Linked DNA regions of Homo sapiens: regions 2 and 3 are each linked to region 1. Evidence: promoter capture Hi-C in 16 types of primary human blood cells and fetal thymus (Javierre and others, 2016). All regions are on one chromosome and are shown on one strand. Each heading gives the region's core, a stretch centred on a gene start or on the middle of the fragment in contact. The rest is flanking DNA. Distances are from core to core; before and after follow the strand shown.

Region 1 (4,066 bases), core at 1,542-4,041:
AGGTAAAGCTCCAGTAAGGTCAAGCGCCAGCCACTCCCTGCTTTGTTCAAATTCCTTTGAGAAGGTGGAGAAGGGATCAGTGCTGGGAGGCCCAGTGCCCAGGATGGGGTGGGCACAGAGTGAGGCTCTCCACCTATGGGGGCAGTCCGGCCACTCCTCCATCCAAGCTGAGTTCTGCATCTGTCAAATGAGTGGGATTTTGCAGCGAGAATGCAACAGGCCCAGTGTAAAGCGCTGTGCACAGGAGAGGCATCACCTCTGCCTCAGTCTGTCCTCTAGGTCTGACGTGGCCATGAGGACAGGCCCACTGCACATGCTCTGAGCAAGGCCAGGGGTGGGGGCACCCCACCAGCTCAGCTCAGGCATCCAGCATGGGAGGGGCACATAGGGGAGCACGGGGAAGGCCACTGTGGAAACACAGTCCTAGGGGGAACCCTAGCTCCGCCTGTCACAGCTGTGTGGCCTCAGGCAAGGCACTTAACGCCTCAGTTTCCTTATCAGTAAATGGGGCTATGAGGAATAAATGAGAAAATGCATGGCACATGGAAAAAAAGAAGGAGCTCATAGGGTTTTTGGTGAAGGGCATTGTGGCTCTGCCACCACATCCTTCCCCAGACCCCAAAGAGACTACAGAGTCCCTGGGCCTGAGGGAGGTCCCTGACCCTCCATCCAGCCCCCTCAACCTCATCTAGGACCTGGGTCCACATCTAGAAGTTCATTTTGGCCCTCTCACAGCATTCTCACTGCATCTATGACCCCTCTCCTTTCACAACTCTGCAACTGGAACTTTTATTTTGATGAGGCATTCTCTGCCTGGAGAGCTAAAAAGCCTCCAAAACAAACAGTGCTTCCTACCCTTCCCCGAGCTCTCCAGAGTGGAGAAGTGTCTGATTTCCTGGTTCCCAAGCTCCACGAGGTCTGTGCAGTGCAAGTCCCTCCCCAGACACCTCCCCCGTCGAGTGCCTCCCGAGTTACTCACAGTGGTTGGGCAATGGTCAGGGATCCGGCCTCCCACTTATGTAAGGCATAATTATCCAGCCCACCCGGCTCCAGCCACCATAGCAGCCAGCAGCAGGGGCCAGGAAGAGCCCATGCCCTCCCCAGGCCCACATAGGGCTCCCATTGGCCTGCACCCTCCAGAACAGAAGAGCGGCTGACCCCTGATGAAGTGCCCACTAGGTGCCCGCTGCTAGGTGCTTCCTCCTGCTCACTCTGAGGCTGCACTTCCAGCAGTGGAGGCCTTTCCAGCAAGAAGAATGGAAACAATAGCGAGATGTGTGCAGCCAGTGTACCCTGGTGAGCACCGGCTCTGCGCCAGGTGCTACGCTGAGAGAACGCCTCAGAGCTCTTTACTATTCACCACCCCACACCACACTCCCACGTCCACAGAAGCAGGTGCGATTACTTCCAATTTACAGAAAAGGAAACTGAGGCCCAGAGACACCAGGGAGCTTGCTGGGGTGAAGCAGCTGCAGGTTCAGAAAGCCAGGAGGCAGCCCATTCATTACGGCTATGTCCGGTTTGGAAATCTCTCGCACAACCCAGCCTACTGAAACTCCGACGCACCAAAAACATCCTTTCCTCTTCCTGAAAAAAAAAAAATTCCCCTTTTGCCCTCCGAGTTTCATCCTTCCCCCTCCGCATGACAAATCCTGCTGCTGCCACCTCACAAAAATTTCCAGGAAGGCCAGCTACTTGGAGAAGAGCAAATCCCTTGCACAGCCAGCACCCTGGCCTGGCGGCTGGCCCAGATCCCAGGCAGCCAGGACAAGAATAAGATGGGGTGAGAACCCCCAGTGCAGGGAGAAGCTTGCAACTCAAGACAGAGAGAGGCCGGTAGAGAGGGGGCTGTACCTTAGGGAGGGGTGGGAGGACAAGGAAGGTTCCTGGGAGCCCAGGGCTGCAGGACAGGGTGCAGGCCAGCCAGGGAAGGGGCAACATAGGGCCTATAAGGATAAGAAGAGCTGGGGGAGAGAAGGACGGGGAGTTCCGAGCTGGGGTGTAGCCAGAGCACCCGCATAGGGGGTACAGTGAGGTCCGCAACAACAGGAGCACTCTGGGGCCCAGATGGAGACTCAAGTTAAATCCCAACCTGGATACAGCCCTGGGACCCGAAGCTAGAAATGGGACTGGGTGCTGCCCAAGGACCCAGGTGAAGGCCAGTGTGAATCTCACCTGGGTCCCGCTGAGGGAGAAGACTGGGAGAGTTCATGTCCAGGCTGCAGCCATAAGGCCCAAATGAGGTCAGAATGAGGCTCCTGACTTGGATGGGGTGAGCAGAACAAAGTCCTAGTCTGGGTCCAGCCTGGGTGATCTCGGGCCTGAGTGCAGTCCCAAGGCCTAACGTGGGGGTCCAGGTGAGGGCCCAGGCGGGGGCTGGTCCCGGGACCCCGAACAGGAAGGGGTTCCGGGACCGGACGCCGCTGCCAGGTCGAGAACAGGATGGGGTGGGACCAAAGAAAGGTCGGGGTTTGCAGCCCGGCCCCAGATTAGGCGCGGGGTCAGGCCGAGGTCCCGGCCGGGAGCGCCTACCTTTGGACTGGGGCATGCTGGCGGGCTGGCTCGAGGCGGGCGACTCCATGCTGCAAGTGGGTCCTGGACGGCGGTGGAGACTAATCTAGAGGACTGCGGGCTCCACCGGGGCCGAGCACGCTCATGGCTGCGGGCAGACGGCCCAGGCCAGGCGGAGGAGCAGCGGCGGCGGCGGCGGCGGCGGCGGCGACTGCGGCGAGGACTGCGGCGGCGACTGCAGCAAGGACGAGTCCGCGACGGGCGGCGCCGGAGACAGACTGGGCAGCGCCGGGGAGACCCCGGCCGAACTGCGCTGACTCAGGCCCCGCCCCTGCGTGCCCGATTGGTCCTTTCGTTTCCAAGGCCCGTCCTCTGCCTATCAGACGCCGGCCTGTCCCTGCCTGTCAAGCACACGCCCCACCCTCCTTAGGCCCAGGATCCGGGCCCCTCCCGCTCTCTGTCAAGTCCGCCAGCCGCCCGAAAAACCCAGGTCCGGTCAGGCTCCGCCCCCTGGACTAAAGCCGCGCCCCTCGCGCTGCCCGTCAACATGCAAGCCCCACCCACTCCCGGGACCCACTGAGCCCGCTGCTCCCTGCAGGCGCCCAGGCCCAGCCCGGCACCCCCAGACCCGCAGCCCCGGCGGGTGCGATGCGCGGGCGCGTTCTCCTGGGTGCGTCGTCTGGAAAAAACCCGAGATCCCTAAAGGTGGCACGGCTGGGCCTGCCGAAGTGGGCGGGGGTTAAAAGTGCGCTGCTGGGCTGCCTCCTGGCTCTCTGAACCTGCAGCTGCCTCACCCTAGCAAGCTCCCTAGTGTCTCTGGGCCTCAGTTTCCTTTTCTGTAAATTGGACCCGGGTTCGGATCCGAGTCGGCAGCTTTGTAGCGGAACTAGCCTTGGTCAGGTGGTGACACCTGAGCCTCAGTCTACGCATCTGTGAGCGGGCGGCGGTGACAGCTATCTCCCGGCGCTGCTCGCTAACACGCACTGAGGGCCTGGCGCCAGCAAACGTCGCCCGCGCCCGCGCTCCAGGCGCCCGGCCAGGGCGCGGGGTCGGTGGTGAGCTCAGCGATGCCCGGTGACGAGGCAGCACGAGGAGTTTTCGTGGCTGGTTACTGCTGCCCCTGTTCTACACAGGGGGAAACCGTGTCTCAGAGGGAGTGAGGCGGCATGCGGTGCATTTTATCCCGCGAGCCCCGAGGCCCCATCCTGGCTCTCTCCTGGACCTTCGTTCTCTCCTCTCCTCCTAGGATCTCAGTCTGCCCATCTGCATAATGGCTGGATGGGCCAGTCCTCCCTCTGCTCCCACACGGAACCTCGGGGGATTTCAGGAACCGCTGACCAATCTGGCGCTGGGAACAGATGACTCTGGATGTAAAGCCAGGGCTAGTGAAGGCAGAATGTACCAGGCAAAGGTCAAGGGGTCAGCCCCTGGCCTCCAGGCAGACATGTGTACCCTGTCAGGGACCTCACGTGAGGGAAGCAGATTCCACCACCTGCTAGAAAGGCTTGAGGCCGGGCCTGACCTCTGCTTGCCCAGGTGTAAAGTGGGGGTGATG
Region 2 (3,679 bases), core at 1,141-3,640, 260 kb before region 1:
GTAATAACTGTCAGACATATCTGTGCCTGAAATGTCAGACTTTTTCTGAGAAAAAAACTGAAAACTTGTTTCCCATTATTTTAAATAGGAAAAATTATAGGGCACAACAAGTCAATAGAAAAAAACCTACCAATTTCCTAACTCACAGTGTGGCAGTAGGTTTAAGTTGCACATAAGTTAGGATGTAAAATGCTTAAATGTTGCCACTTGGTCACCCACATTTGATATGGTTGTTAACATGCATTTGCCTTGGATGCAGTAGCTGTGCGACCAGCAACATCACACGTGAACCTCCCCTTTGTCAACACACCAAAGCTTTTTGAAGTGACTGTCATGATCCTGATGGTCTACCAGTTGTTTCTGGAAGGAACATGTGGTTTTTTCCAGCAAACTATTTAGTTTAAAATGTTGTAATTTTTGAAAGCTCAAACATTATGTCTACAACCATCAGCCAAAAAATTTGAGACAGGTTCTTGCTCTTTTGCCCAAACTGCACCACGAAAGGGGTTCCAGCGATCCACCTGCTTCAGCCTCCCCAGTAGCTGAGACCACAGGTTTGTGCCACCATGCCTGTTAATTTCTAAATTTTTTGTAGAAACTACATCTCCCCACATTGCCCAGGCTGGCCTCGAACTTCTAGACTCAAGCAATTTTCCTGCCTTGGCCTCCCAAAGTGCTGGAATCACAGGCGTGAGTCACCAACCGCACTCAGCCTGAAAAATGTTTTGTGAGATAAATAGCTGCTATACAGTTTAGATATTAAAAACTAAGATGTGTTCTTCCAGGAAAGTTATACTTTCAGATATATTCTGTGTCACATCCTGTATGATGAAATAGATGGCAAAAAAAAAAAAAATCCCATTTAATTTAAAGATGGAAGCTGTAACTTCAAGTAAATTTGGAGCTGAGGAGTCCTTTCGGGCTATGACCCCAGAATTCTGGGGTTCTCTGTACTGATTTTTTGCTAGTGTCCACACACAAGCATTCCTTAATGCTGTGCATTAAACAAATAGACCTTTTTTAACCCCAGGTTTCTCTCCATTTACCATTCTGTTTCTCTGCTCCATGCAACTTCCTCACCTCATGTCCTCTCTTGCACCCACTCCTTTCCAGCTTTCCTCCAAGGTACTTTGCTGAAACGACTTTTATCTCAGTCATTTAGCTGCATTTGACACAGACGATACAATTGAGGAGTTCCACCCTTTCTTCTGGATTTTAGGGACCTTCCCTCCTGGATTCCCTCTCACCTTTATCCTCATCCTCCTGCTCCTCCTCCACCAGATCTCTAGTGATCCTCTCAGAATGATCCCACACAGTCTCATAGCTTTAAATACCATCCATCTGTTGATAACCACTAGGCTTGGGGCCTCTTCCCTGAGGGGAGCACCAAGAGTCATCCCTGACTCTTTTCCCTTCTCCCCCAACCCCCATGCAACCACACAGCAAGTCCTGTGGCTCTTGAGTGCAACCAGCATCCTGATTCACCATCTCCATTTCCACAACCAGTTTCAGTCACCTTCCTCTCCTACTGGGCTACTGCCAAGAATCCTCCAACCTCCCTGCATCTTGTCTTGCCCTGCTACAGTCCAGCCTCCACTCAAGCATCCAGAGTGATCTCTTGAAAATGTTAAAACATGATATAGGCATACCCCCACCCCTGTGTAAACCCTGCCACTATCTACTCATTGCAGTAGAATAAAAGCTCAGACAACCTGGTGCCTGCCTCTTCAGCCTCATCTCCTGCCCTTGCTTGTTCTTGCTATGTGGGTCAGATTTTCTGGTCTCCAGAGCTGAAAACAATCTTAACTGACAGACGTTAGATCATAGACTTTATCTACAGCATAAGGCATGGAAGGAAAAGTCTGAGAGAATGAAGGGCCAGAAAAGCTTGTTTAAAAAAAAAATAAAAAGCACAGGAAACTGGAAACGTAACTAACCTGTATGTATATACTTAAAAGAACATGGTAACAAAATGAACTCTTTAGAAACTGAGCCAACAGACTTGCAAACAAATAGAAATACCTTTGGTCCTACTCTGAAAACAAGAAGAATCCTTAGTGAGTATACAAGAACAAAAATTGTACACATTTCTGGGTCATAATGCAATAAAACTAGAAATAATCAAAAGAGAATTTAAAGATGTTCAGCTTCCTGAAAATGTTAAATTATCCTTTTAAACAAATTAATGCCTGCATCAGGGTGCAAATCCAAAACACAAATACCTTGCCTATAAAAATATATTTTTGCAAACAACAGTGTATCGGGATGTGAGGAGAGAGCTCACTGACTCAAAAGCTCCCAGAGTGACCAGATGTGTTCATGGGAACCGGAGCACTGCCCTGGAGTCATTTGACATCACCTTATTACAAGTAGGAACAGCCATGCTGGGAGATGCTCAGATGCCAGTAATAAGTCAGAGGATTCCCTCCTGAATGGGACCTCCCAGTCCTCTTTGGCACAGGGTTCCAGGCAGTGACCACAAATCCATCGGTGATGGCTTACAAGATCAACCTGCCCTCAGGCAGTGGAGTGGAAACTGGCACTAGCAGCTACAGTGGAAAAAATGAATGGCCTCTAAGAATATGTCATCTGCCCCATGCAAAGATTCTGGATCCCAGAAGTCCTCCTAGTAAGGACTCGGAGCCAGACAACTTCATTTCCTGTCACCTGGGCTGCTCTCCCTCTGACAGCTATGGAAATTGGTGAAGCACAGGAACGTATTGGAAATGGCAATGATGTGCCATGCCAATGTGTGGAAGTGTACAAGTTAAGTAATATTTTAAAAACAGAACACACAACAGTTTGCACAATCCGACCAAAGCTCTGTCATGTATGTTTCTAAACAAGTTTGGAAGAGAATTTGGAAATGGCTGAAATTTTTTTATAAAGCTTATGTTTTTAGTTTGTTTAAATGTAAAAGCATACACTTAGAAACAAGTTAGTATGTAAAAATTTTTAATCTTAGCTATCTGGAAGCTTCAAATACTTAGAATGAGGCATTTCCCAAAGGTATCTGTAACTTGAATTTTACCGTAGTTTGAAAACTCTTGCCCAGCATAATGGCTTACAGCGGTAATCCCAGCACTTTGGGAGGTTAAGGTGGGCAGATCACTTGAGCTAGGAGTTAGAGACCAGCCTGGGCAACATGGTGAAACCCCATCTCTACAAAAAATTTAAAAATTAGCTGGGAGTGGTGGCACTGCTGATAGACACAGCTACTCAGGAGGCTGAGGTGGGAGGATCCTTGAGCCCGGGAGGTCTAGGCTGCAGTGAGCCGTGATCGCACCAGTGTACTTCAGCCTGGGCAACAGTGCCAGACCCCGCCCCCTCCCCTAGAAGAAAGAAAACTATTAGTTCATAGTGCAGTTGATGAAATAATGTACATCCACAAAGAAACAAGCAATCATAATATGTATATAATTACTCAGTATTAAAATATTGTGTATAGTATTACATATATTGAATACCTATAATGAATGGGGCACTGCTTTAAGCACTTTATACTCATTATCCCACAAGAATTCTCTCTCCAGCAGGTCTTAGTATATTCAATTTAAAGGCTAATTAGTAAGCAATATATAGAATTGAATGAGAAACTACTTAAAACATAGAAGGCTCTCGAAAATACAATGTGGAATGAGTAATGCAAGTTACAGAGATACACAGCACATTTATAGAA
Region 3 (4,037 bases), core at 680-3,179, 270 kb after region 1:
AGGGTGAACTGCTCTTCCCTTAGAGACTCCCCATATTTGGGGAGACACTAATCCCAGAGCCGTGGTCTGTCTCCAGGTGATGACAATGGGAAGAAGGCCAACAACCCCAACCACTGCAACTGCATCATAGACCAGATCTTCACAGGCGGGTTGCAGTCAGACGTCACCTGCCAAGTCTGCCAGTAAGTGAGAGGCTGCGTGCTCGGCAATATCAAACCCTCTGGGGCCGTACTGACATCCTCCCAGTCTCCAGAGCTGTGTGTGCTCTGAGAGGTCTTTAAGGAGGCTATGAGATAAATGATTAATAGACGCCATGAGAGCGAAGGTTGTGGGGTGGGGGTGCTTCCTCTTGGGGAGGTCGTAGGGCAGGTGTCCCCTCGGGATGCGAGCCCTTCGTGTTGAGGTCTTGGCTGTTGTCTACAGCCAGCAGTGTGTTCTTGGAAGCTTCCCCTACCATTTTGCATCTTACAGTCCTTGACCAGGGACCAAGTGAAAGAGCCCTCTTCAAGAAGGCGTGGATCATGCATGGTGGATTGTTTTTCTACGTGCTTCGAAGTGTGTTAGTTTTCATTATTTTATGGTTTCTGGTTCCATTTTCTGATGTAGTGGCCCTAATTCTTCTCAGATGTGGTCTCTGCTTAGAGCCTCAAGTGTTGAGTGCAGGGAGAATCCATTGCTTTGTTAGGTCAGGGGACCCTCTCACCCAACCTCAGTGCATGCTACAGGTTTTTTGTTTTTGTTTTTGTTTTTTTCAGGCATGGGGTCTTGTGTATGTTGCCCAGGCTGGCCTTGAACCCATGGGCTCAAGCGATCCTCCCTCCTTAGCCTCCCAAGTAGCTGGGACTACAGGCATGGGCCACCGTGCCTGGCTCTGTTCTTTACTTCAGTTGAAGTTTAAAAACCCTGGACATGATCCACCGAAATTATTTCAGAACCCGAAATGGACTGTCACTTCTAAACTGCATAAGACGAGCAAATATCGGGAAAGGCCAGTGCTGCCTGTGTCACGGGGGCCATTTTCTATAAGGAGCATAGACCGTTTGGGGCCTTGTCTCTGAGTATTAGAAACCGAGTTTGCTCTGAGCAATTTGGACCTCCTCGCTGTCCCTTAACTACTGAATTCCATTAGTAGGAGATTGTCTCAAGATTTAAATCCTGTATAAATATCGAGAGTAAATTTCCCAGTCTGCAAGTTTTCATTTTTTATATTGTTAAATAAATTTCTAGCAAGGAACTGGCCTTGTGAAATGCAGCATTGACTGTCCAGTGCAGGCCACCGGGCCTGGCCTGGGCACGCTCTGTGAAATGTGCAGGGGTCTCCAGTGTTGCCTAGGGTCACAGGCCCCAAGTTCTAGATGCAGCTGAGATAGACCTGTGGATTCAGAGCCTCTGACAGGGCCCATGAGTTTATCCTCCTCCCAAGTCCCTCAGTGACTGTGATGGTCTCCAGACTGGGAAGTCCTTGCTTGAGGAGCGCCCCTCGCCTTCCGAGTTCACACACACCCCTCCCCAGGGCCACCTTGGGAGCCAGGACACGTTGGGTGTGAGCACTGCTGCTCTTGCTCCTGCCCCATCCCACCTGAGTGTCACTGTGACAAAGGGCACAGCGGGGAAGGGATGTGGGAACGGCTTCCACCCCGGGTTGCCTCTGGAGCTGGGTGGGTGTCAGTCCTCACAGCCATTGTTTTCCCTCTGCTTCCAGTGGAGTCTCCACCACCATCGACCCCTTCTGGGACATCAGCTTGGATCTCCCCGGCTCTTCCACCCCATTCTGGCCCCTGAGCCCAGGGAGCGAGGGCAACGTGGTAAACGGGGAAAGCCACGTGTCGGGAACCACCACGCTCACGGACTGCCTGCGACGGTGAGAGGCCTGCACCCACACGGCGGGGGCGTGTCTCCTGGCCAGAAGGCTGTGCTCCATCAGGACCAAAGCAGGGCTCTTTCACATGCCCAGGACAGAGCCTGGGCAAAGGTGCAGCATGAGCCTGGATTGGCTGCAGTCTCTTGTGCTAGTTTGTCCTTTGTTTTGGCCAGATGACTCAATATTTCTGTCCCCCAGCTTCGCACAGCACCAGGTGTCAGTGTCAGCAGCTGCTACTCCAACCTCCGCATGTAAATGAACCCAGAGCCAAACTGGCTGCTCCCTTAGCCCTTGCACTAATCACCTACCCCGGAGTGTGAGCTGAGATGCGCCCGGGCCTCTCCCCATGGTCCACGGCCTTCTCTGCACATGATTAAAACTTAGTTGTGATGTTCTGTACTCTTAGGGCTGTTTTTGAAATTGTGCATGTACTGCTTCATTTGGGATAAGTAATAATATTTACAAAGTGATTTTTTTTTTTTTTTTTGAGACAGAGTTGTGCTCTGTCGACCAGGCTGGAATGCAGTGGTGCGATTTCTGCTCACTGCAGCCTCTGCCTTTCAGGTTCAAGTGATTCTCCTGAGTAGCTGGGACTACAGGTGTGCACCACCACGCCTGGCTAATTTTTGTATTTTTAGTAGAGCGGGGGTTTTACCATGTTGGCCAGGCTAGTCTCGAACTCGTGATATCAGGTGATTCACCCACCTCGGCCTCCCAAAGTGCTCACAGGCATGAGCCACCACACCTGTGAGTGATTTTTAAAAAAAAATGTATTTAAGTAGCTGTAGCATACAATTGTAAAGACAGCAGAAAACCTTCCTAAAATTTGTCTATTATTTTATAGCCTTTGTTTTATTTGCATCAATTAAAGGTAATGCAGAAGAGTCCTTGTTGAGTGGAAGTATCCCTTAGAAGAGGTACGAGCCTTTGGTTTCTGTCTGGCTGCATAGTCAGCACGACCAAAGTTGCATGTTTATTTTGTTTTTTGAGATAGGGTCTTGCTCTTTCATGCAGGCTGGAGTGCAGTGGTGCCATCATAGCTCACTGCAACCTCGATCTCCTGGGCTCAGCCTCAGTGTCCAGGGCTCAGCCTTGGTCTCCTGTCTCGGCCTCCTGAGTAGTTGGGACTATAGGTGTGTGCCACCATGCCCAGCTGATTTTGTGATTTTTTTTTTTTTAATTTTTTTTTTTTGAGACGGAGTCTCGCTCTTTCTAGAGTGCAGGCTGGAGTGCAGTGGCGCGATCTTGGCTCACTGCAACCTCCACCTCCCAGGTTCACGTGATTCTCCGGCCTCAACCTCCCGAGTGGCTGGGATTACAGGTGCTTGCTACCATATCCGGCTAACTTTTGTATTTTTAGTAGAGACTAGGTTTCGCCACATTGGCCAGGGTAGTCCCAAACTCCTGACCTTAGGTGATCCGCCTGCCTTGGCCTCCCAAAGTGCTGGGATTACAGGTGTGAGCCAGCATGCCCGGCCAACCAAAACCTTTTTAAAGAAAGTCTTTGCAGCTAAATTAAATTTAATCATAAATTCCAATAAAATGAAAGCTTTGCCAAAACAGCAGGCCATGAGGTAGAAACCACACTTCACAAACTACAATGTGTGGGAAGCCTGTGTTGTTAGGAGAGACATGATGTGGTGCTGACTCCCGGGAAGGTGGAGGAGAGGTAGAGTGCACCCGGGTCCCCACTTTGTATTGCAAGCAAAGGCTCCTTTTCGAGTCCTTTGGAGAGCAGATCACAAAGCTAGCAACGAAACAGGTGCAGCTTTGCCCAGAGGCCCCCTCGTCTTGCCCTAGTTAAGATGGCAGAATTTCCAGAGCATAAATAAGGGCTTTCCATACCTGCTTGTGAAAAGAGTGAATTTTTTGCTGGTGTTTCAGCTTCAAAATTTGGCGTGTGCTTTGTTGAATCATCTGTTCTGCAGGTTTTGTCAGTGGCAGCTGACACCTGTGCCAGACACGCTTCTGATGCAGCCCTCCTACCTCCTGCCTCTGCACGGTCAGGAAATTACCTTTCCCAGTCCTCTTGCCTTTTTTTTTTTTTTTTTTTTTTTTTGAAATGGAGTCTTGCTCTTGTTGCCCAGGCTGGAGTGCAGTGGCACAATCTCGGCTCACTGCAACCTCCATCTCCCAGGTTCAAGCGGTTCTCCTGCCTCAGCCTCCTGAGTAGCTG

What was found. Contacts are between HindIII fragments. The CHiCAGO score rates a contact against its expected background, and 5 or more counts as called.
Region 2: a fragment that was not itself captured here is called in contact with the fragment with the promoter of MAP2K3 in region 1 in 2 of 17 cell types (total CD8 T cells and naive CD4 T cells); the score reaches 5.7 in total CD8 T cells.
Region 3: a fragment that was not itself captured here is called in contact with the fragment with the promoter of MAP2K3 in region 1 in 1 of 17 cell types (neutrophils); the score reaches 5.4 in neutrophils.

Annotation. Positions count from the first base shown.
Region 1 is chr17:21,283,436-21,287,501 of GRCh38, reverse strand. MAP2K3 (mitogen-activated protein kinase kinase 3) reads right to left here and starts at 2,791. Exons shown (of 12, transcript NM_145109.3): 1 at 2,533-2,791. The coding sequence starts at 2,581. RefSeq lists enhancers at 1,083-1,142, 3,219-3,719 and a silencer at 2,803-3,332. The HindIII fragment of the contact is 5,771 bases long and covers 1,812-4,066 here.
Region 2 is chr17:21,547,269-21,550,947 of GRCh38, reverse strand. The region is part of intron 1 of LINC02693 (long intergenic non-protein coding RNA 2693); the gene reads left to right. Among named protein-coding and RNA genes, the nearest start is that of LINC02693, 2.6 kb to the left of the region's middle. The HindIII fragment of the contact is 1,002 bases long and covers 1,890-2,891 here.
Region 3 is chr17:21,008,975-21,013,011 of GRCh38, reverse strand. USP22 (ubiquitin specific peptidase 22) reads left to right here. Exons shown (of 13, transcript NM_015276.2): 7 at 77-182; 8 at 1,703-1,861. Among named protein-coding and RNA genes, the nearest start is that of USP22, 32 kb to the left of the region's middle. The HindIII fragment of the contact is 2,966 bases long and covers 447-3,412 here.